Regions from separate parts of the Homo sapiens genome. Here regions 1, 2, 3, 5, 6 and 7 are each linked to region 4. The links are contacts of gene promoters, found by promoter capture Hi-C in human tissues and cell types (Jung and others, 2019). All regions are on one chromosome and are shown on one strand. Each heading gives the region's core, a stretch centred on a gene start or on the middle of the fragment in contact. The rest is flanking DNA. Distances are from core to core; before and after follow the strand shown. Region 1 overlaps LOC105374338 (a long non-coding RNA gene). Region 2 overlaps ZNF718 (zinc finger protein 718). Region 3 has its middle 14 kb from the start of ZNF718. Region 4 holds the start of ZNF141 (zinc finger protein 141). Region 5 overlaps PIGG (phosphatidylinositol glycan anchor biosynthesis class G (EMM blood group)). Region 6 overlaps ZNF595 (zinc finger protein 595). Region 7 holds the start of ZNF721 (zinc finger protein 721).

What was found. The method cuts DNA at HindIII sites, captures the fragments that hold promoters and counts their contacts. A contact is called where the count stands out against the background at its distance.
Region 1: a fragment that was not itself captured here is called in contact with the fragment with the promoter of ZNF141 in region 4 in 1 of the 25 tissues and cell types used here (mesendoderm cells).
Region 2: a fragment that was not itself captured here is called in contact with the fragment with the promoter of ZNF141 in region 4 in 2 of the 25 tissues and cell types used here (H1 embryonic stem cells and dorsolateral prefrontal cortex).
Region 3: a contact is called between a fragment that was not itself captured here and the fragment with the promoter of ZNF141 in region 4, in 1 of the 25 tissues and cell types used here (dorsolateral prefrontal cortex).
Region 5: a fragment that was not itself captured here is called in contact with the fragment with the promoter of ZNF141 in region 4 in 2 of the 25 tissues and cell types used here (H1 embryonic stem cells and dorsolateral prefrontal cortex).
Region 6: a fragment that was not itself captured here is called in contact with the fragment with the promoter of ZNF141 in region 4 in 4 of the 25 tissues and cell types used here (dorsolateral prefrontal cortex, lymphoblastoid cells, mesendoderm cells and 1 more).
Region 7: the fragment with the promoter of ZNF721 here is called in contact with the fragment with the promoter of ZNF141 in region 4 in 5 of the 25 tissues and cell types used here (adrenal gland, dorsolateral prefrontal cortex, heart right ventricle and 2 more).

What each region holds. Positions count from the first base shown.
Region 1 is chr4:581,628-584,327 of GRCh38, reverse strand. It overlaps LOC105374338 (a long non-coding RNA gene), which reads right to left. Exons shown (of 3, transcript NR_148199.1): 3 at 1-49. Among named protein-coding and RNA genes, the nearest start is that of TMEM271, 6.7 kb to the right of the region's middle. The HindIII fragment of the contact is 8,335 bases long and covers 1-2,700 here.
Region 2 is chr4:146,346-149,045 of GRCh38, reverse strand. The region is part of intron 3 of ZNF718 (zinc finger protein 718); the gene reads right to left. Among named protein-coding and RNA genes, the nearest start is that of ZNF718, 23 kb to the right of the region's middle. The HindIII fragment of the contact is 4,844 bases long and covers 1-2,700 here.
Region 3 is chr4:109,388-112,087 of GRCh38, reverse strand. No RefSeq gene overlaps it. Among named protein-coding and RNA genes, the nearest start is that of ZNF718, 14 kb to the left of the region's middle. The HindIII fragment of the contact is 4,168 bases long and covers 1-2,700 here.
Region 4 is chr4:336,383-339,082 of GRCh38, reverse strand. ZNF141 (zinc finger protein 141) reads right to left here and starts at 1,269. Exons shown (of 4, transcript NM_003441.4): 1 at 1,097-1,269. The coding sequence starts at 1,099. RefSeq lists enhancers at 1,420-1,519, 564-1,524, 1,630-2,145 and silencers at 2,160-2,269, 2,500-2,559. The HindIII fragment of the contact is 20,671 bases long and covers 1-2,700 here.
Region 5 is chr4:528,040-530,739 of GRCh38, reverse strand. PIGG (phosphatidylinositol glycan anchor biosynthesis class G (EMM blood group)) reads right to left here. Exons shown (of 13, transcript NM_001127178.3): 11 at 1-304. Among named protein-coding and RNA genes, the nearest start is that of PIGG, 30 kb to the right of the region's middle. The HindIII fragment of the contact is 6,945 bases long and covers 1-2,700 here.
Region 6 is chr4:86,992-89,691 of GRCh38, reverse strand. ZNF595 (zinc finger protein 595) reads right to left here. Exons shown (of 4, transcript NM_182524.4): 4 at 1,484-2,700. The coding sequence ends at 2,241. Among named protein-coding and RNA genes, the nearest start is that of ZNF595, 35 kb to the right of the region's middle. The HindIII fragment of the contact is 4,411 bases long and covers 1-2,700 here.
Region 7 is chr4:497,797-500,496 of GRCh38, reverse strand. ZNF721 (zinc finger protein 721) reads left to right here and starts at 1,341. Exons shown (of 3, transcript NM_133474.4): 1 at 1,341-1,441. PIGG (phosphatidylinositol glycan anchor biosynthesis class G (EMM blood group)) reads right to left here and starts at 1,287. Exons shown (of 13, transcript NM_001127178.3): 1 at 1,008-1,287; 2 at 1-101. The coding sequence starts at 1,161. RefSeq lists enhancers at 326-1,189, 1,147-1,626, 1,190-2,055. The HindIII fragment of the contact is 23,753 bases long and covers 1-2,700 here.

The sequences.
Region 1 (2,700 bases), core at 146-2,645, 250 kb before region 4:
TTGGTTGGACATTTGAAACTGAATCAGTGTAATTCATCATATTAACAGGCTGAAAAAGAAAAACCATATGATAATCTCAAAAGACGAGGAAAAAAGCATTTGACAAGATTCATCAACGGTTCATGATAAAAACACTCAAAACAGAAATAGATTTCAACCTGATAAAAGGCATCTACAAAAAAACTACAGCTTACATTATACTTAAGGGTGAAAGACCAAATGGTTTCCCACTAAGACAAGAAACAAGGCAAGGGTGTTTACTCTCATTACTTCTATTCACTATTATGCATGAGGACCTAGCCAATGCAATAAAGCAAGAAAAAAAAAAAGCATGCAGCTTGGAAAGGAAGCAGTAAAATGGGTTCTATTTACCTGTGGCATGATTGTCTATGTAGAAAATCTTACCAAATACACAAAAGCGGCTGCTAGAATTAGTGAATTTAACAAGGTCACAGGGTAAGAGGGCAATCTAAAAAGTTAATTGTATTTATATGTACCAGTAACAAACAATTTTATATTAATGCTATATGTTTATATAGTAACATTTATTAAAGTAAATGTTACTTTAAAGAAATCAGAATAGACACAAAAATCTAATGAGGGTATCTGGCCAGGTGTGGTGGCTCCTGCCTGTAATCCCAGCACTTTGAGAGGCTGAGGTGGGAGGACTGCTTGAGCCCAGGAGTTCGAGACCAGCCTGGGCAAAATAGTGGGACCTTGTCTCTATAAAAACAAAACAAACAAACAAACAAAAAAACCAGAAAAAAAGAAAGAAAAAAAAGAGGGTGTCTTATTCCTTTAAATTAACATTTACAAAATGAAAAATATAAAAATATGAAATCCTTATAGGGAAATTTAACAAAATGTGTGCAAAGCCTGTGCACTGAAAACTACAAAATATTGATGAGATAAATTAATGAAGACTAAGTAAATGTAGGTTAGAAGATTCAATATTGCTAACATACTAATTATCCCCAAATTAAGATATAGGTTCAATACAATCTCAATCAGACATTTTTGGGTAGAAATTGACAAGCTGAGTCTAAAATCTGTATGGACATGCAAAGGACCTAAAATAGTCAAATTATTTTGAAAAAGAGTAAAAATGTTGGAGGACTCACATTACCTGATTCCAGCATTCATTATGGAGCTACAATAATCCAGATACTGTGATGTTAGCATAAGAACAGACATGGCCAGGCACGGTGGCTCACGCCTGTAATCCCAGCACTTTGGGAGGCCGAGGCAGGTGAATCACGAGGTCAGGAGTTCAAGACCAGCCTAACCAACATGGTGAAACTCCGTCTCTACTAAAAATACAAAAATTAGCTGGGTGTGGTGGCACATGCCTGTAATTCCAGCTACTCAGGAGGCTGGGGTAGGAGAATCGCTTGAACCTGGGAGCAGAGGTTGCAGTGAGCCCAGACAGCACCACTGCACTCCAGCCTGGGCAACAGAGTGAGACTCCATCTCAAAAAAAAAAAAAAAACAAAAAAAAACAGACATATAAGTCGATGGGTCAGAACTGAGAGTCAATTGATTTTCAATAAAAGTACCAAGGTAACTTAATGGTACTGGTAATTATTTTCAAGAAATGGTACTGGAACAACTGTATATCCATATGCAAAAATAAAAACCTTGACCATTACATCATACCATATACAAAAATTAATTCAAAATGGATCACAGATGTACACTTAGGAGCTAAAACCACAAAACTTCTGAAAGACAAGAAAATATTTGTAATCTTGGTTCAGACAATTATTTCCTAAATAATACACAAAAAACATAAAAGAAAAAAGTAATAATTGGATGTCATCAAAATGTAAAGTTTTGCTTTTTAAAAGCTCTTGATAAGAAGATGAAAAAGTAGGTCAAAGACTGGGAGAAAATACTTGCGAAACATTTATCCAATAAATAACATGTTCAGAACGTATAAAGAATTCTTACAACTCAATTACAAGAAGACAACCCAATTTTTAAAAAATCGGCAGAGGATTTGGAAGGACTCTTTACTAAAGATATATGAAAGTCTCAACGCCATTAGTTGTCAAGGTAATGCAAATTAAAACACAATGAGATACACTGCAAACCCACCAGAATGGTCAGCACTATTAAGGCTGACAACACCGTGGGCTGGTGAGGGCGTGGGGCATCTGGAGCTTTCACACTTCGGTCTGGGAATGCAAAATGGTACAGCCACTCTGGAAAACAGTTTGTAAGTTTCCTGAAAGTTAAATATTAACTTTTGATACAGTCCAGCAATACCACTTCTAAGGATGTACCCAAGAGAAGTGAAAACAGATGTTCACAGAAGACTTGTCCTTGAATGACAATAGCAGCATTATTCATAACAATCTCAATGGAAAAACACCAAATGTCCATCATTTCATGGATGAGTAAACAAATGTTGGTGGAATTCTGCTCAGCCACGAAAACAAATGATCCATTGATTCATGCAGCAACGTGGAAAAGTCTCCAAGCATTTTGCCAGCGGAAAGAAGCCAGACAGGAAAGACTCTATGCTCCCTGAGTCCATGTATGTGAAATTTTATACTAAAGCTACGGTGACAGATAGTGGTTCATGGTTGCCTGTGCCCAGAATGGAGGGAGAGGGTGCCTGCAAAGGAGAACTTGGGGGGAGTTGGGACAGTGCTGGATCATCTCGGTGGTGGTGACTCACAACAAGGTGTCCAGTTG
Region 2 (2,700 bases), core at 102-2,601, 190 kb after region 4:
AAAGAACCTTTATGAAAACTTAGAAATCCATGTAAAAGATTGTGAATCCAAGACTGAGGAGGGCTGTATTAAGAGGGCATGCACTTGCTTGAGTGGCATGCTTGCCCATCATAGTCCCAGCTACCGAATGAAATATGAATAATTCTCACTGTAAACATAGCTATAGATCATTTGGTTTTGTTCCTGCCACTATCACCATCTGCCAAGACACTTAGGAGAATTCATAATGTCCTGTGTCTCAGGTGAAAGGCCTTGACATGTTGGTCCTGCCTGTGATCTATAAATTAGCCCAAAACCCACCCCTTTCCCTGATCAGTCATAGTGTGGAAGAAATCCTGCACACACAGAGACCCACAGAAACATCCATCTGTGCCCCTGGATGTAGGCCTGCCAATATTTATTCAATGGTGGATTTTTTTTTTTTTTTTTTTTTTTGAGACAGAGTCTCACTCTGTCACCTTGGCTGCAGAGTGCAATGGCGTGATATTTGCTCACTGCAACCTCCAGCTCCCAGGTTCAAGCAATTCTGCTGCCTCAGTCTCCTGAGTAAGCGGGATTACAGATGCCCGCCACCATGCCCAGCAAATTTTTGTATTTTTAGTAGAGATGGGATTTGGCCAATTTGGCCAGGCTGGTCTCGAACTCCTGACCTCAGGTGGTCCGCCCACCTTGGCCTCCCGAAGTGCAGGGATTACAGATGTGAGTCACTGCACCTGGCCCTGATGGTGGATTTTGATGTGGCACTATAACCTGGCTCCGAGTCCATGCAACCAAAGTCCAGGGGCAGTTTTTCCTAGCCTGAAACCTGCCAAAAAGCACACCTATAGGCATGCTGGCTGACTTTATTCCCACTATGAATCTTGAAGTAGCCCTGTAACCAGCGCCATTCCCTGTCCGCTAGAGTCTGGGAGCAGTCCTGCCCGCCCAGAAATCTGAAGGCATAAATGCCGTGAACCCAGAAACAGAGCTGAAGTCTTAGCTGTGTATCCTGAAGCAGCCCTATGAATCAGTTCCACACCTTTTCAGCTGTGATCAAGGACCAACCCTGCTCTTCCAGGAACCTGTCCAATGACTGGATTAGAGCATTTCCAAAAACCAGCAAAAGCCTCACAGGAGTCACACCAGATAACATTACTGTATCAGCACCCCCAGATATAATTGGAGGGTTTTTTTTCCTGGAGATGGAATCTCGCTCTGTCGCCCAGGCTGGATGGAGTGCAGTGGTGTGATCTCAGCTCCGTGCAACCTCCACCTCCCGGGTTCAAGCAATTCTCCTGCCTCAGCCTCCCAAGTAGCTGGGGCTACAGGCGCACACTGCCACGACTGGCTAATTTTTTGTATTTTAGTAGAGACGGGGTTTCACCATGTTGCCCAGGCTGGTCTCGAACTCCTGAGCTGAGGCAATTCACCTGCCTTGGCCTCCCAAAGTGCTGGGATTTTTTTTTTCTGAGCACTAGTCATATTGATCAACATCTTGAAGAAAGTTTGGTGTTCTCAGAAAACAGACGAAACCACAACTGTCTGATGCCCTGATTACAGGTCTGCCAAGCATGAACTTCATGGCAGGCCCGGTAGTAGTTACATGACCTGGCTCCAATGCACTTAACTGCAATATCAGCAGAAATCGCATCAGTCCAGAGATCCAACAGAAGAAGATATTTACCTCCCCAAACTAGTTTATAGTAACTGAAAGAGGCATTTGCTTCTTCAGACGCAAGGACATCCTTAATGGATCATGAAGGATCAGGCAAATATAACACCACCAAAGGAAACTAAAAATGCTCCAGTAACCACTTACAATAAAACACAGATCTAAAAAATGACTAACAGAGAATTCAAGATAATCTTCAAGCATCTCACCAGTCTGACCAACATGGTGAAAGCCTCTTTCTACTAAAAATACAAGAATTAGCCAGGTGTGGTGGTGCACACCTGTAGTCACAGCTAATTGGGAGGCTGAGGCAAAAGAATCGCTTGAATCTGGAGTGTGAAGGTTGCAGTGAGTCAAGATCACCCCACTGCACTCTAGCCTGAGCAACAGAGTGAGACTCTGTCTCAAGAAAAATAAAAAATAAAAATAAAAACTCAGTAAGATGCAAAAGTACACAGATTACTAAATTTTTTTGCAACAATGCATGAACAAAATCACAATACAGAAAAAGAAACCATTAAAAAAGAACCAAATAGATATGCTGGAGTCAAAGTAAAAATAGTAGAACTGAAAAATTTAAGAGAAAGCTTTAACAGGAGACTCAGCTATATAAAAAAAAAACACCCCAGCAAACGTAAGTCATTTGAAAGTTTCTAATTAGAAATTTTTTAAAAATGAAAGTGTGAATAAAGAATTTGGAACCCATGCTATATGATAAACCATAAAAAGGTACATATTTTAGGAGGTTCAAAAGAGAGAAAACTTTTTTTTATTGTTTAAAGATATAATGTGTTAAAATTTTCCCAATCTTGGAAGAAATACAGACATTCAGTTTTATGAGGCTCAAAATATCAGTAGCAAGAAGAACTTGATAAAAAACTTGCCCAGGACACAATTATAATTAAACTGCCAAAAATTCAAAGACAATGGGAGATTCTTAAAAGAAGCAAGAAAAAGAGATTCTTCTCATATAAGGGAACATCTATAAGGTTATCAGTAAATTGCTCAGCAGAAACCATGCAAGCCACACAGAAGTGAGACCGTATATT
Region 3 (2,700 bases), core at 64-2,563, 230 kb after region 4:
CCAGGCCAGCCCTGGATGTGGAGGAGGCTCCACTGTGAGCCACAGCAGGATCCCAAACTTTGTAGGTGCAGGAATAAGAGAGAGTGTCAGAAGGACTGGGAGATGGAGCAATGGCCTCTGTGGAGGAGTAAGCCCTCCTCACCAGAGGCCGTGAGGATCCTCCCTTGGGGTTTCTGGCTGGACTCTATGTCTTCGCTTTAGTACTCTATTCTAAACCCATCAGAAGCGCTTTGCTGCTACAAAATAAACTCCAGACTGGAGCGTGGCATCAAGGGCTCTTCCCAACCTGACTCCAAATTGACTTTCTGACCATCTCCCCCTCCTGCCCTATACTTTCAACCTTCCTGTTCTTTGCTCACACAAGTCCATCCACCTGGCACACCTTCCCCTGAATATTTTCCCATTTTCCCAATCTCCAGGCCTACCTCTGCCTCCTAGAAGCCTTTCATTCTGAGACTCCTGGGCCTGGAGATTTACCAAAGTGTCGTGCATTTTCCCAGTCTTAGGATTGTTTATGTCCCCCCAGGTACCTGCACATGCCCCACACACAGCGGCACTGCATAAACATGGGGCAATGTTTCGCTCCCCCATTGCCTTCGTTCTGTTCCCTCTGAACCCCTGAAATTTGAGACAGTTAATTTAAAAAGTTTATTTTGCCAAGGTTGTGGATGGCATGTCTATGACACAGCCTCAGGAGGTCCTGACAACATGTGCCCAAGGTGGTCAGAGCACAGCTTGGTTTTATACATTTTGAGGGGCATAAGACATCAATCAACATATGTAAGATGAACACTGGTTCAGTCCAGAAAGGTAGGACAACTCCAAGCAAAAGCGAGACAACTGGAAGTGGGGAGGGGGTTTCCAGGACAGAGGTAGGTGAGAGACAATCCATTGCCTTCTTTTGAGTTTCTGATTAGCCTTTTTAAAGGAGGAAATCAGATATGCATTTATTTCAGTGAGCAGAGGGATGACTTTGAATTGAATGGAAGGCAGGTTTGCCCTAAGCATTGCCAGCTTGAATTTTCCCTTTAGCTTAGTTACTTTGGGGCCCAAGATATTTTCCTTGAATGGGTCAGGTCCTCTGCCACTGTGTCTTCCTCAAAGATGCTCTGCAACAGATGGTGGTGTTCTCATTTGATGGGTGAGAAAACTGCCTTGGAGACGTGAAAATCCAGAGAACAAAGTCAGCATCAGTGTGGGTCCTCCCACCCAGGCCTGCATCATTGTCTCAGTAGCCCTGGCACACAGTGTGAGGGGCCAGAATCGGTCTCCCTGTTTCTGCCCAAGGACCCTGCAGTCTCTTCTGAGCTCAGATACTGGGCCAAACTGAGCTGTTGGAAACCAATATCACAGCCCTCTGGGACTTTGAATAGTGAAAACCTTCACAATGGTCTGCGGAGAAGGGAGCCTCGAGGTTTGATCTGGGCCTTCCCTTCCTTTCTAACTTTCTCACCTCTTCCACTCCCTCCCCCTTGCCCTTTGCTCTGGCCAGTGTCACTGGGGCCCCTGCACAGCCTTCCCTCTCTCTGGAATCTCTTCCCTGGGCTGACTCCTCACCTCCAGGATCTTTTGTGACCCTCTCCCTCTGCCATCACCAAACCCCAGATCGATCCCCTTTTGTGCCTCCTCCCTTCCTTTCTTTCTCTCCTGTCATTGCTTCTTCCTCCTGTCCCAATATTAACCCAGGGTGATCTAGGGGTCTGGAGGTGTAGGTTTGAAGGGGTCCTGAAATGGCCACACACAGATTCATTAGACCCTCTGCAATTCCTAAAGGGTTAATAATGGAACCTCCCATACCCAAGGCGAGGAATTTCCCCCAGGAAAGGTGACTTAATGAGTAGCGAGTGTGACCAACAGGCACCACTTTATCAGGCAGGCACTGAAGAGGCAGGGGAGGGAAAGGATGGAAGCACAGAAACACCTCTGTCTCTCTCTCGCTCTTCCACTAATCTGTGTCCTAACTGAAAGCCCACAGGAGGGACGATGACTTGCTCAAGGTCACCAGCACCTTGGAGAATAGCGAGCCAGGGCCACAGAGGAAGACAGTCTCCTGACCAGCGTGAACCAGTGTCTGCTTCCAAGTCACAGTGGCCTCACTGTCAATGGAGCTCCTTGTGCCCAAAGGCAGGGTGCCTAACCAAGGAGCCACATGAGTGCCAGCTCTGCCACTCTGTAGCCTACAGTAGGCTCCGTTTTGCTTCCTGGTCTTTTTCCTCTTGGGTCCAACTGTCCAGTTTCTTCACCCACTATTCGGACCTCATCTTGTCCCGGCCACTAGAGGCTCAGCTGTCAGGGACCCTCACAACTCAGGCCTCTTCTGTGCTTTCCTTGGGCACCCCTGGACTTCTGTTATCCTCTGAGTGGGCTGGTGAACCACTCCCGTGGAGGTCTTTACATTAACCCAGCCCCTCTCAATCAGCAATCTCCCCTGCCACTCATCCAGATGCTAATTATTTCTCCGTTGAGTTTTTCTCTACCTAATTGAAAATTAACGTCTGATTCCTCTCTCTCCCTTGCATAACCTCCGTGAAAAATGTCAGATGCCTTAACCCCAGGAAGTTCTCTGCCTATATTTCCTTTCCCACCTCCTTCTCCCAGGCACTTTGACTCCGTCTTTCCATTCACATATGTATCTAGAGCCTACCATGTTGTAGTCCCTGGGGATATTGCAGTGAACCAAACAATGTCCCTATCCTGTGG
Region 4 (2,700 bases), core at 20-2,519:
CTCAGGAGTGGGTTAGCATTGGGTGGGGGCTGGCAGCAGGGTGCAGGGAAGGGATGTTTCTCAGAACTCCTTTCCTCCAAGTTCTCAGCGCCCTCTCTCCCCGGGAGGAGACCTGGAGGAACAGAACAGTGCGCAGCAGGACAGTGCATGTGCAGAACCCGGCTGGTCTCCCGCGGACACCTGCGACTCCCTCCAGCCCAGGCTCAGCCATGTCTTTCTTCTGACAGGAAACGTGAGGAGTTTGCTCAACACCAGTCAATGCTCCGACCCCAACGGGCTGTCCAACAACTCACTAACGACACCACCCGGAGTCAGCACAGACCCCACAAGCTCAGCGCTCTTCCCGCAGCTGCCCCCCTGCAGACGCCAGTCCCTGCCTCTGGACACCCGTCTTCATTTCTGAACACCTGTCTACAAACCAGGGGCCCACACCCTCCTCAAGTTCAATAATATGACAGAACTACTCACAGAACTCAGCGAAGCGCTGTGCGCGCCCACACTAGCGTATTCTAAAAGATGCCACTCAGGAACAGCCACGCGGAGGAGGCGCACAGGGCAAGGAGACTGGTGGGCAAGTTGGAGCGGGCGGGTGATTTGCTTCGCTTCCTCACACACCTCACAAAAGCTTTTCCTTCAAGACCCGCTGGCAGCCCCCAAACCACGAGCCACGGCCGGCGCTGTCCCATTAATGAGTCCCCATTTGCTCACATGAACTCTGTTTTGATGGGGCCTCGATCTCATTCCGAACAGGGTAAAGCAGGGACGGGATCCCCAGACCACAGCTTCTCCCACAGCTCCTCCCACGCCGGCATCGCGCACGCCGCGCGGGCGGCTTCCAGATAAGCTACTCCTCACCCCACAGCCTGGGGAAGGTGCGGGGCTGCGGGCGCAGAGCTGCACAAGGAGGGCTGCAGGCTGGGCCAGAGCCGCTGTGCGGGGACCGACAGGAGCCCAGGTCCCTCACCGGAGGGTACTGAGGCCCCAGGGCTGAGCGGCGGCAGCGGGGACTCCGTTCGCAGACTCGGTCCCGCCGCCATTTCCCGCCAGCTCCGATGAGACCTCCTCAGCCTTGGGACGCCCTGCCCCGCACACTCACCATTTCCCCACTTCTGAAGTATTCGGGAGTCTTAGCTACCAATCATCCAATACCCGCAGGTCACAGAGCGACGGAGGCTGAGCTGTGGCCGAATCACCAAGGCCTCCCACAACTGAGAACGCAGAGAGATGAAGCCCCTAACCCGCGGTCTGGTAGTAGCCAGACGCAAAGACCCGCGCCACATCCCGGAAGCCACCGCCTCCTCTCTGGCTGCGTGCCTGATTGGGCAGTTTTCACTCCAGTGCGCTGATTGGATACGGCTCCAATCTCCCCGCCATCAGACCTTGAGTGACAGAAGTTGCAACCACATACTCCACGGAATGTGGCGAGAGTGACAGCCGGGGGGCCTCCAGGCAGTTTCAGGCGGGGCTTTCTCTTCGTGCTTGGCCTGGCACAGCCCAGGGGTCATTTTTTAACCTTGTGATGTGTAAGGTGACGTCCATTTAGAAATTATACACGCACGCACACACACAGACATATACGCGCGCGCGCACACACAGACGCGCGCACGTACGCAGTCTCACATAAACATACAAAAGTCACAGACACACACACACACACACGCACGCACCCACGCACGCACAGCCCATCCTTCCTCCAAGGCTCGCGAATCATCTCTCCACAAATCCTGCCTTCGGGGCCGCAGCCTGCAGGCCGACCTCAGTCCGTCCTCACAGAGCCTAGTTGGGTGCACAGCTCTCCCTGACGCGCGAGGAGCAGGTTCACGGGAGTCGGTCGCGCATCCCCAGCGCCCTGCGGGCCTCGCACCGGCTGTGGCGGTGACCCCGGTGAGGAGGGCTTTGGTGCGGGTCACCGTTGCTGAGGACACCCTCCTCCCCCGGAAGCGCGGTCCTGGGGGTCTGGGGGGCGGGTCCCTGACCGCTGTAAACAATAGGTCGGTGGTGTCCACGCAGCAGGCAGCAAATTCTCAGGAAGTGAGCGTCCCGTCTTTGGCTTCACCTTCGTGTCTGTAGAATGGGGGTGAGGGGACTCAGGACTCGGAGCGCTGTCGGGCGGGGCGAGGTGGGCTGAGAGTGTGTCTCCCTCCCCAAGCTCACCCGGAGCTGTGCGGGGCGGGACCGCCCCAGGACCCTCGGTTCCCAGGAGCTCCTGGGGGCCCCGCCGCCCCCACCCCAGGCCGCGCTGCGCAGCCCCAGTCCCCGCCGGCCCCACCGCGCGGTCGCTTTGAGGTCGGCCGGGGTCTGCCCGGCGATGGCGACGCTGCAGCCGCTGGAGCCGGGGCCACCGGGGATCTCGGCGGGACCTGGCGGCAGCGAGGACGCGGACCCTGGAGAGATGGGAGGGGCGCGCCCCGAGCCCGAGCCCCACCCGGACCCGGCTGCCGTCGGCCTAGCCAGGGCCGGGGCGGACACCGTCGAGGACGAAGCCGGGCCCGCGCCCCTGGGCGACCCGTTGAGCCGCGGAGCCCCGCGGGGTGGAGCCGGGCCAGGCCCATCCGCTCCGGGCGCGGGCAGCTGGCGTCGCGGGTGGGTCAGAACCCAGGACACGCCCAGGAGTCCGACCTCATGGCGCTGCAGGGCCTGGGGAGTGGGGGCTGGGGACAGCGCCAGGGCCAACCCGACGCCAGCACCCCCGGCAGACCC
Region 5 (2,700 bases), core at 73-2,572, 190 kb before region 4:
ATAGAAGAATGCTTGACCAAACCAATAATGCATCACAGTAATCTCAGCTGCATCGTGTCTCAGGGGCTTCCAGATGAATTTAGTCATTAGAGTCTGAATCAAGAGGCTAAATGCTAAGACCGGAAGATTATGTGGTCTAAAGAGCAAGGCTGCCAGAAGAACTAATCCACTATATATCTCCCATAAACCTACAGTCTTGAGTTTGAAGTCTGCAGCAATGACTTGAGATTTAAGTAAGTCTTTGGTGCCCGTGAACAGAATGCCAAGGACAAAGACATAAACAAAACGAGCTTCAATAATACCCCTAAAAAAGAGCAAAACAAGTTAGATTCATTAGCACCAGTGAGAAAAATTCAAAAACATTTTCCCATGAAAAACACACCTATCTACCCAGGGAACCAGTAAATGTCCAGCACTGCTGACTAAAGGAGCCGCGGCACCCTCCCTACCCCCCAGGTCCTGTCATGGCAGTGGGCATGTCTCCTCCGCACAGCAGCCCTGAGGAGCCGCCGCCACAGGCCCACAGGTGTGTCCTCGTGCAGACTCTTCCGCTGGGGCTGGCTTCGGGGAGATCTTGCTCATTTGGCTCATCTGGTGGCACGACCCAAGCGGTGCCCTCGTGGCCCGCCTGCTTTGCAGTTAATTAAAAAAAACCCAACGCACTAGTATAAGAGTCAACTCTAAGAAACTGCTGTAAGTTCATAAATGTTCATTGCACAACTGAGCAGATTTAAAGAAGGATTTGCACATTTACAGGTACACATACATGCAGTTATAGGTAAATAAGCACCTGCACATTCACAGGCACACACGCGTGCAGTGGTGCAGTCATCCAACCCGCGGGCTCTGAGAAAAGGCAGAGCTCTGCTCAGTCCGAGCCCTGCTGCTCTGCTCACTAGCTCTCCTACTCGGGCGTGTCAATCAAGACTTCTGACCCTCAGCTTTGCTATTTGTGAAATGGAGAGAAAATGGTTCTACACTTCACAAAGTCATCCTAGGAATTAAGCAAGGGAATGCAGGGAGTGCTTGGCACACAGTAAGCTCAGTAAAATTAAGTACTCTTATGATAGTTATCTGTAAAGGATACAATTACCAAAAAATTTCATCTTACAAAACACGTATGTTCCTAAAACATAATATTTTAAATAAATTTTGTAAATGAAATGCTTCACACAGCCTACAAATCTGATCATTTAAAATAATCGTAATTTTTAATATCATAATATTGTGAAAACTGAATTTTCCTATATTAGATTTTCTTAGAAAGCTTTTACATTAAGAAAGTAAACTTTGATCAGTTTAGTTCAAACAGCCTGAGCACTGTATACCATGTGCCTGGCAGTGTGGCTGCCAGGAGGGGCCCACATCCTGGCTGAGGAGCTGGGGTCAGGTACCTGGCAACCCCCACAGGCCAAGGTGTGTGCTAAGTTAAGAGTGAATTATAGGCCCATCTGCATTCAAAGAAGGGAGAAATCAGCAAAGGTCACAATCACTGGAGAAGTTTCATAGAAGAAAAGGGACTGGTTTCTGTGTCGAGAGGATGCTAGGGCAGGCAGGGTGATGAGCAGGAGGGGCATCATCCAGGGCCTTTGGTGGGTCCTCCTCCTCCTCCCCTGGCCGGGCAGAGTCTGATCCTGCTCAACCAGGCCCACCCCGCTTCCACCTCCACTCCAGCCATCCCTGGGCTTCTGAGTGGAGGACAGTCAGGAACTGAGTGCAAAGGATTTCAGACTCTCAGTGGATGGCAGGGCCCGGGGGACTGACAGGAGAGCGGCAGCTGTTACAATGATCTAGAGCCAGGATGCCTCTGTAGCCAGGACCTATTTACGATCGGGACAGATGGGGACAAAGGACGGAGGCACTTTACAGGAAGAAGGTGAACCAGGCAGTGCGTGTGGAAAGAAAAGGCACACTGGCTAGTTCTGGACACTAGCAAATTACATGCTGCAGGAAGCAGGCCAGGAAAGGGAAGAGGGCCAAGGTCTTGAGATGAGTGATGCTGAAATTCAGTGTATAGATCTGTGAGGAAATGAATTTATTCATACGCTGCACCTTAAACACACACCCGCAAATGTAACATCCATTTGGATGAGCCCTAAGTCTCAGATTCCAAAGTCAACAGCCTTTGAGACATCTCCACAGAACACCGCTGGTACCTGCACGTCAGCATCCTCTCTGCCCCAGGCCCCGGCCCCGTATGACGGCCTGCTACACTCTCACTGCCTCAGCCAGGCCTCAGGTCACCCTAACTCCCACCCCTTACTCCCCACTCAGCCAGGAAGTACTTCCAGGGGTGCCCCCGGAGCCCCACGGCCACCCCTCAGGCTGGCCACAGCCCTCAGCAGTCACCTTGACTTGCTGTGATTAGAAAAGCAACACTTATTAACTCTAGACATCGCTAAGATACAAAAATAAGTAAAAAGCAAGACCACAATCTTATGATTTCAGGTCCTAAATATAATCACCAGTATTTTAAGTATGTAGTCTTTCATATAAGTATGAAAAAAAAAACAGGTACACAATTAGTAAGCTGGGGTCATACCTGTTCCACAACATGCTTCTCTGTTCTGTGAAAATAGGCTGCCTAACAGCCAGAAGACCCCTCTGCAGAGCACCGACCTCACTGAGAGGGTCACTATCAGAGCACCGACCTCACTGGGACGGTCACTGTCAGAGCACCGACCTCACTGGGAGGATCAC
Region 6 (2,700 bases), core at 70-2,569, 250 kb after region 4:
CTACAATAAGCATAAAACTTTAAGACATCATATTTAGTGAAATATACCAGAAACATAGTGACAAAGAGTATATAATCCCATTTAAATGAGCTATCTTAAGTGAAATGATTTTTAGAAGACAGTCAGAATTATAAAGTACTCCTCCACAGATGGAATAAAAACGTGTGAATGCCGGGAGCAGTCATCTGCCACCTGGAGAACAGAACTTCCAGGCACCAGGGGAATGCAAGCACAGATGACAACAGTGATGGTAGCAAGGGCACTGATTAGAGTAGTGGTGGCCTGAGGAGTACTTTTTGGCATGCACCAGTGTGCCAGAGGCTGGGGCCCACACTGGGGATTGGAGTTGCCCTCCATAACTCCAGAACCAGGTCCTGGTGTTTCACTTCATGTTCCACCAATGCCCCTGCAGACAGTAAAGTACTTATCTCAATTAAGTGATCTAAACATTGCATTGATAAGCTATAAATAACCTCAAACACTCCAGTTAAAAACAATTTACCACACTGAAAAATTTCAAACTTCTAATCAGAACATAGAAAGTCTGTATGAAATTACATGGCAAAAAGAGAACAGTGAGAAGACTGTAGCCATAACACAAAGAAGAAGGGGTGTGAGGCATACATAGCTGGGAATAAACCATAAAGATATTCCAAAACTAAAGATAATTAGAAAATAAAATCAGAGGTTCTCTTTAAATTCAGAATGAGTCAGTTTTGCAGCCTGGTAACAGATGTTCTCTCCACATGCAGACTGCCATTTCTTCACTATAGACATTTTCATTCTCTTACTTGGAGCTACAAACTCACTCCAGAAAGAATAATATTTATGGCTAATTATGGAGCATCTATTACCCAGTACTTTCTTATGCTTACTATAATTATATATCAAAACATCCCATGAATTATTAAGTTTCACCAGTACTTACCTGAAAAAATTGGCACAATAAACTCATTTATGTCAATTATAAAAAGTGAAACAAATAACTAAACGGCTCATATAGGGTTATCCAACTAAAGCAATAAAATGAAATGTCCTAACTAAAATATAACTTAATACACGAATTATGAACTTGCATCTAAATATTTTGTGTTTGCTACTAAATTTTATAAAATTATAATTTCTGACCAGCTCACATAATAAATACTTCATAAAGTAAAAATAAAAAAAATAAGAAAGAAGTCAATTATAGCTCTAGCATGAGTAACAGACAAATAAAAACAGAATTTGCATGGGAGAGTCTCAACAATGATCCGTTAAATTTTACAGTAATAGAAGAAAATATAAATTTGATTTCAGAATGTTTTAGGTTTCTAGATTTCTAGTAAAATATCCACCTTATTAAAATAATCTTTGTTCCAATATTGCTATTTTCCTTGGAAAATAGATACAAACTCTCACAGAAACTCAACTGCTTGCCCCATAATTTTCTTACACCTAAATTTTATCTTTAGAGCAATACATTTACATATTTAACTCCATGTAAATCAAAACCAAAGTCTGCATTTATTTGCGGAAAGAGATGCTACATGTTCAAAGATAAATATGGAACATTTTTTAAAAGCATTCATGACTTAGAAATGTGTGAATTATAATTATACTCATATACTTATTATAATCATAAAATAACCTGTAGTAAAAAAATAATTGCACATTTAAAAATAATTAAAGTGGCCAGGTACGATGGCTCACACCCGTAATCCCAGCACTTTGGGAGGCCGAGGTGGGTGGATCATGAGCTCAGGAGTTCGAGAACAGCCTGGCCAGCATTGTGAAACCCTGTCTCTACTGAAAATACAAAAAATTAGCTGGGCATGGTGGCACCTGCCGGTAGTCACAGCTACTCATGAGGCTGAGGCAGGAGAATTGCTTGAACCCAGCAGGTGGAGGTTGCAGTGAGCCAAGATCGCACCACTGCGCTCCAGCCTGGGCGACAGAACGAGACTCTGTCTCAAAAAAAAAAAAAAAAAAAAAAATTAAAGTGTATAACTGGACTGTGTGTAATACAAAGAACAAATGCTTGTGAAGAATAACTCATTTACTCTGATGTGATAATTACATGTCATATGCCTGTATCAAAATAATCCAAATAAGCCATGAATAGATACACATACTATGTACCTACAGAAATTTTAAAAAATTTAAAATAAGAAAAATAATACAAGTTTATATGGGAGCAATATTCTCCAATTTATTTGCTGTGTAAAGACACTGGAATTAGAGATTACTAGAAATGTCATTCAACTATGTTCCTTGCCAGTATGAATTCGCTTGTGTACAGTAAGGGTTGAGGGCCGATTAAAAGCTTTGCCACATTCTTCACATTTGTAGGATTTCTCTCCAGTATGAATTATCTTATGTTTAGTAAGGGATGAGGACCAATTGAAGGCTTTGCCACATTCTTCACATGTGAAGGGTTTCTCTCCAGTATGAATTCTCTTATGTTTAGTAAGGGTTGAGGATAAGTTATAGGCTTTGCCACATTCTTTGCATTTGTAGGGTTTCTCTCCAGAATGAATTTTCTTATGTTCATTCAGGGCTGTGGACCGAGTAAAGGCTTTGCCACATTCTTCACATTTGTAAAGTTTTTGTTCAGAATGAATGCTCCTGTGTATAATAAGGCCTGAGGATTGGTTAAAAGCTTTGCCACATTCTTTACATTTGTAGGGTTTCTCTCCAGTATGAATATTCTTATGTTCA
Region 7 (2,700 bases), core at 92-2,591, 160 kb before region 4:
CTTTGACCCAAACACAAAATCATCTCTCAAGGCATCTATCAGAACAATAACAACTTTACTGAAGAGAGGTGGTGGCAGCGTGGTCCAGTTAGAACTGGCTCCTAAGTGTTTGAAAGAAAAAAAAGGAAATTGAACTCTAAACTTTCCTTAGCATCAAGCACCTTCACAATCTAGCTTCTACCTACTTCTCCAGCACATACCCTGCGATATCTACATAACCCAACCCAAAAGGAGGCGACTTGTACTTGGTAGGTAGTGCTGGGGGGAAAGGACGGGGGTTAACAGGAGTAATCTTAGGGACCCACAGTAGCAAGCAGTGAATTATCCTCAGTATGGTGAAGAGTACTGGGGTAGGAGAATCCCTACGTAAGGGTCCTGGAATGGGACATTTAGGGAGCTTGACCTAAAACGCAGAGCTGCAGCTACGGGATGGCTGGGCGTTTACATACTGCGTTTACATGGTCAGCGGCTGGCGATGTGTGCAAGTGGTCCAGAACCAGGGCGCCTTTACTTGCTGTATATGGCTGGGTAGGTGAAGCCTAGGAAGAGGCCTAACGCAGAGAGGCCTTAGCCCCTAGGCAGGGAAAACATCTTGGAGGAATATAAGAGACCAAAACGCGAGGGGATCGGCAGGGGTCTTATCTGTTGTGTGCTAGGGGGCAAAAAGGGCGCCTATAACGGGGAGTGACCCAAAGGCTGCTCAGGAAAGGGGCGGGAGCTCTGGACGAGTAGAAGTGGAGAGGCTGGATCCCAGGTATGGACACAGCTTACTTTGTGGTGATCAGGAAGGAAGGTCGAAGTGGGGCCAGTAGAGGTGGTTGCCACAAAGTTGTAAGAATACAGAAAAGAGACGCTGGAGCGGTTAAAAAAAATTTCTGAGGTGGGGACCATAATGGAAGAGACCACCGGGGAGCGCCGAGAAGAAATCCGAGCAGCGAGGCTCAGAAAAAAGGTCTTCTAGGGGATGTGGGGTCAGGGGAGCGGAGACGCCGGGGAGGGGTCCGTACCAGCCGAGGGTTCGGGCGCTGGGGGCTCCGCTCCGTGTTCCGCTCTGGCAGAGGAACGAACGGGAGCCGGGAAGAATCCCCGAAGGAAGACCGCGATCCCTAGCACCTCGATCGCTACGCAACAGGTAGCGAAAGTCCCGGAGCCCAGCCGCATCGTGGACACGCTAGGCTGGATGCGGAACCGACCCCACCTGGAGCCTCGCCCTGCTGCAGCCGCGCTTCCGGCTCCAGGTAGCCGCCTCTAAGCAATAACGCCAGGCCTTATCGTCGCAGCGACAGTGGCGTCACGTCCGCCGGCGCGCCACAGCAGCGCGTCACTTCCGCCAGCCCGCCACAGCGGGGCGTCACCTCGGACATACGAACAGCGGGCGGTGTTCCCGGCTCCGTGGGGCCGTCTTCCCGGCGAGTCCGCGACGGTCGCCGCCCACGGCGAGGTACGAGGTTTTAAAAAGTTTTTAATTTGGAAGGCAGGGTGCAGTGGCTCACGCCTTTAATCCCAGTACTTTGGGAGGCCGAGGCGGGCGGATCACGAGGTCAGGAGATCGAGACTATCCTGGCCAACATGGTGAAACCCCGTCTCAACTAAAAATACAAAAAATTAGCGGGGCGTGATGGCGGGTGCCTGTCGTCCCAGCTACTCGGGAGGCCGAGGCAGGAGAATCGCTTGAACCTGGGAGGCGGAGGTTGCAGTGAGCCGAGATCGCGCCACTGCACTTCTGCCTGGCAACAGAGCGAGACTGCGTCTCAAAAAAAAAAAAAAAAAGAAAATTCAACCCAATACCTCAGACAACTGGTAAATATCTTAATGATTAACTTCGTTTTAAAGATGCCACATGAGTGAGATCATGAGGTATTTGTCTTTCTGTGTCTTATTTTGCTTACATGATATCCTCAGGTTTATCCGTGTTGTGGCAAATGATAGGGTTTCATTCTTTTATTAGAGCTGAATAGTACTCCATTGTGTATATATACCACATTTTCTTTTTTCTGAAAGGAAAATCTTGGGGCCCCAAAATTACTAAACTAAGGGAAAAGACAAGCTCGGAACTGCTCAGGACAAACCTGCCTCCCATTCTATTCAAAGTCATTCCTCTGCTCACTGAGATAAATGCATATTGATAGCCTCCTTTGGAGAGGCTTATCAGAAACCCAGAAACTGCAACCATTTGTCTGTCACCTACCTGTGACCTGGAAGCCCCCTCCCTGTTCCAAGTTGCCCCCGCCTTTCTGGACAGAACCAATGTCCTTCTTTTTTTTTTTTTTTTTTTTTTTTTCTTTTTCTTTTCAGATGAAATCTCACTCTGTCGCCCAGGCTGGAATGCAGTGGCGTGATCTCAGATCACTGCAACCTCTGCCTCCCGGGTTCAAGCAATTCTCCTGCCTCAGCCTCCTGAGTAGCTGGGATTACAGGTGCGTGCCACCACGCACGGCTAATTTTTGTATTTTTAGTTGAGACGGGGTTTCACCATGTTGGTCAGGCTGTTCTTGAACTCCTGACCTCGTGATCCGCCCGCCTCGGCCTCCCAGAGTGCTGGGATTTACAGGCATGAGCCACCGCGCCCGGCCTGTTTTTTTTTTGTTGGTTTGTTTTTGAGACGGAGTCTCGCTCTGTCGCCCAGCCTGGAGTGCAGTGGCACCATCTCCGCTCACTGCAAGCTCCGCCTCCCGGGTTCACGCCATTTTCCTACCGCAG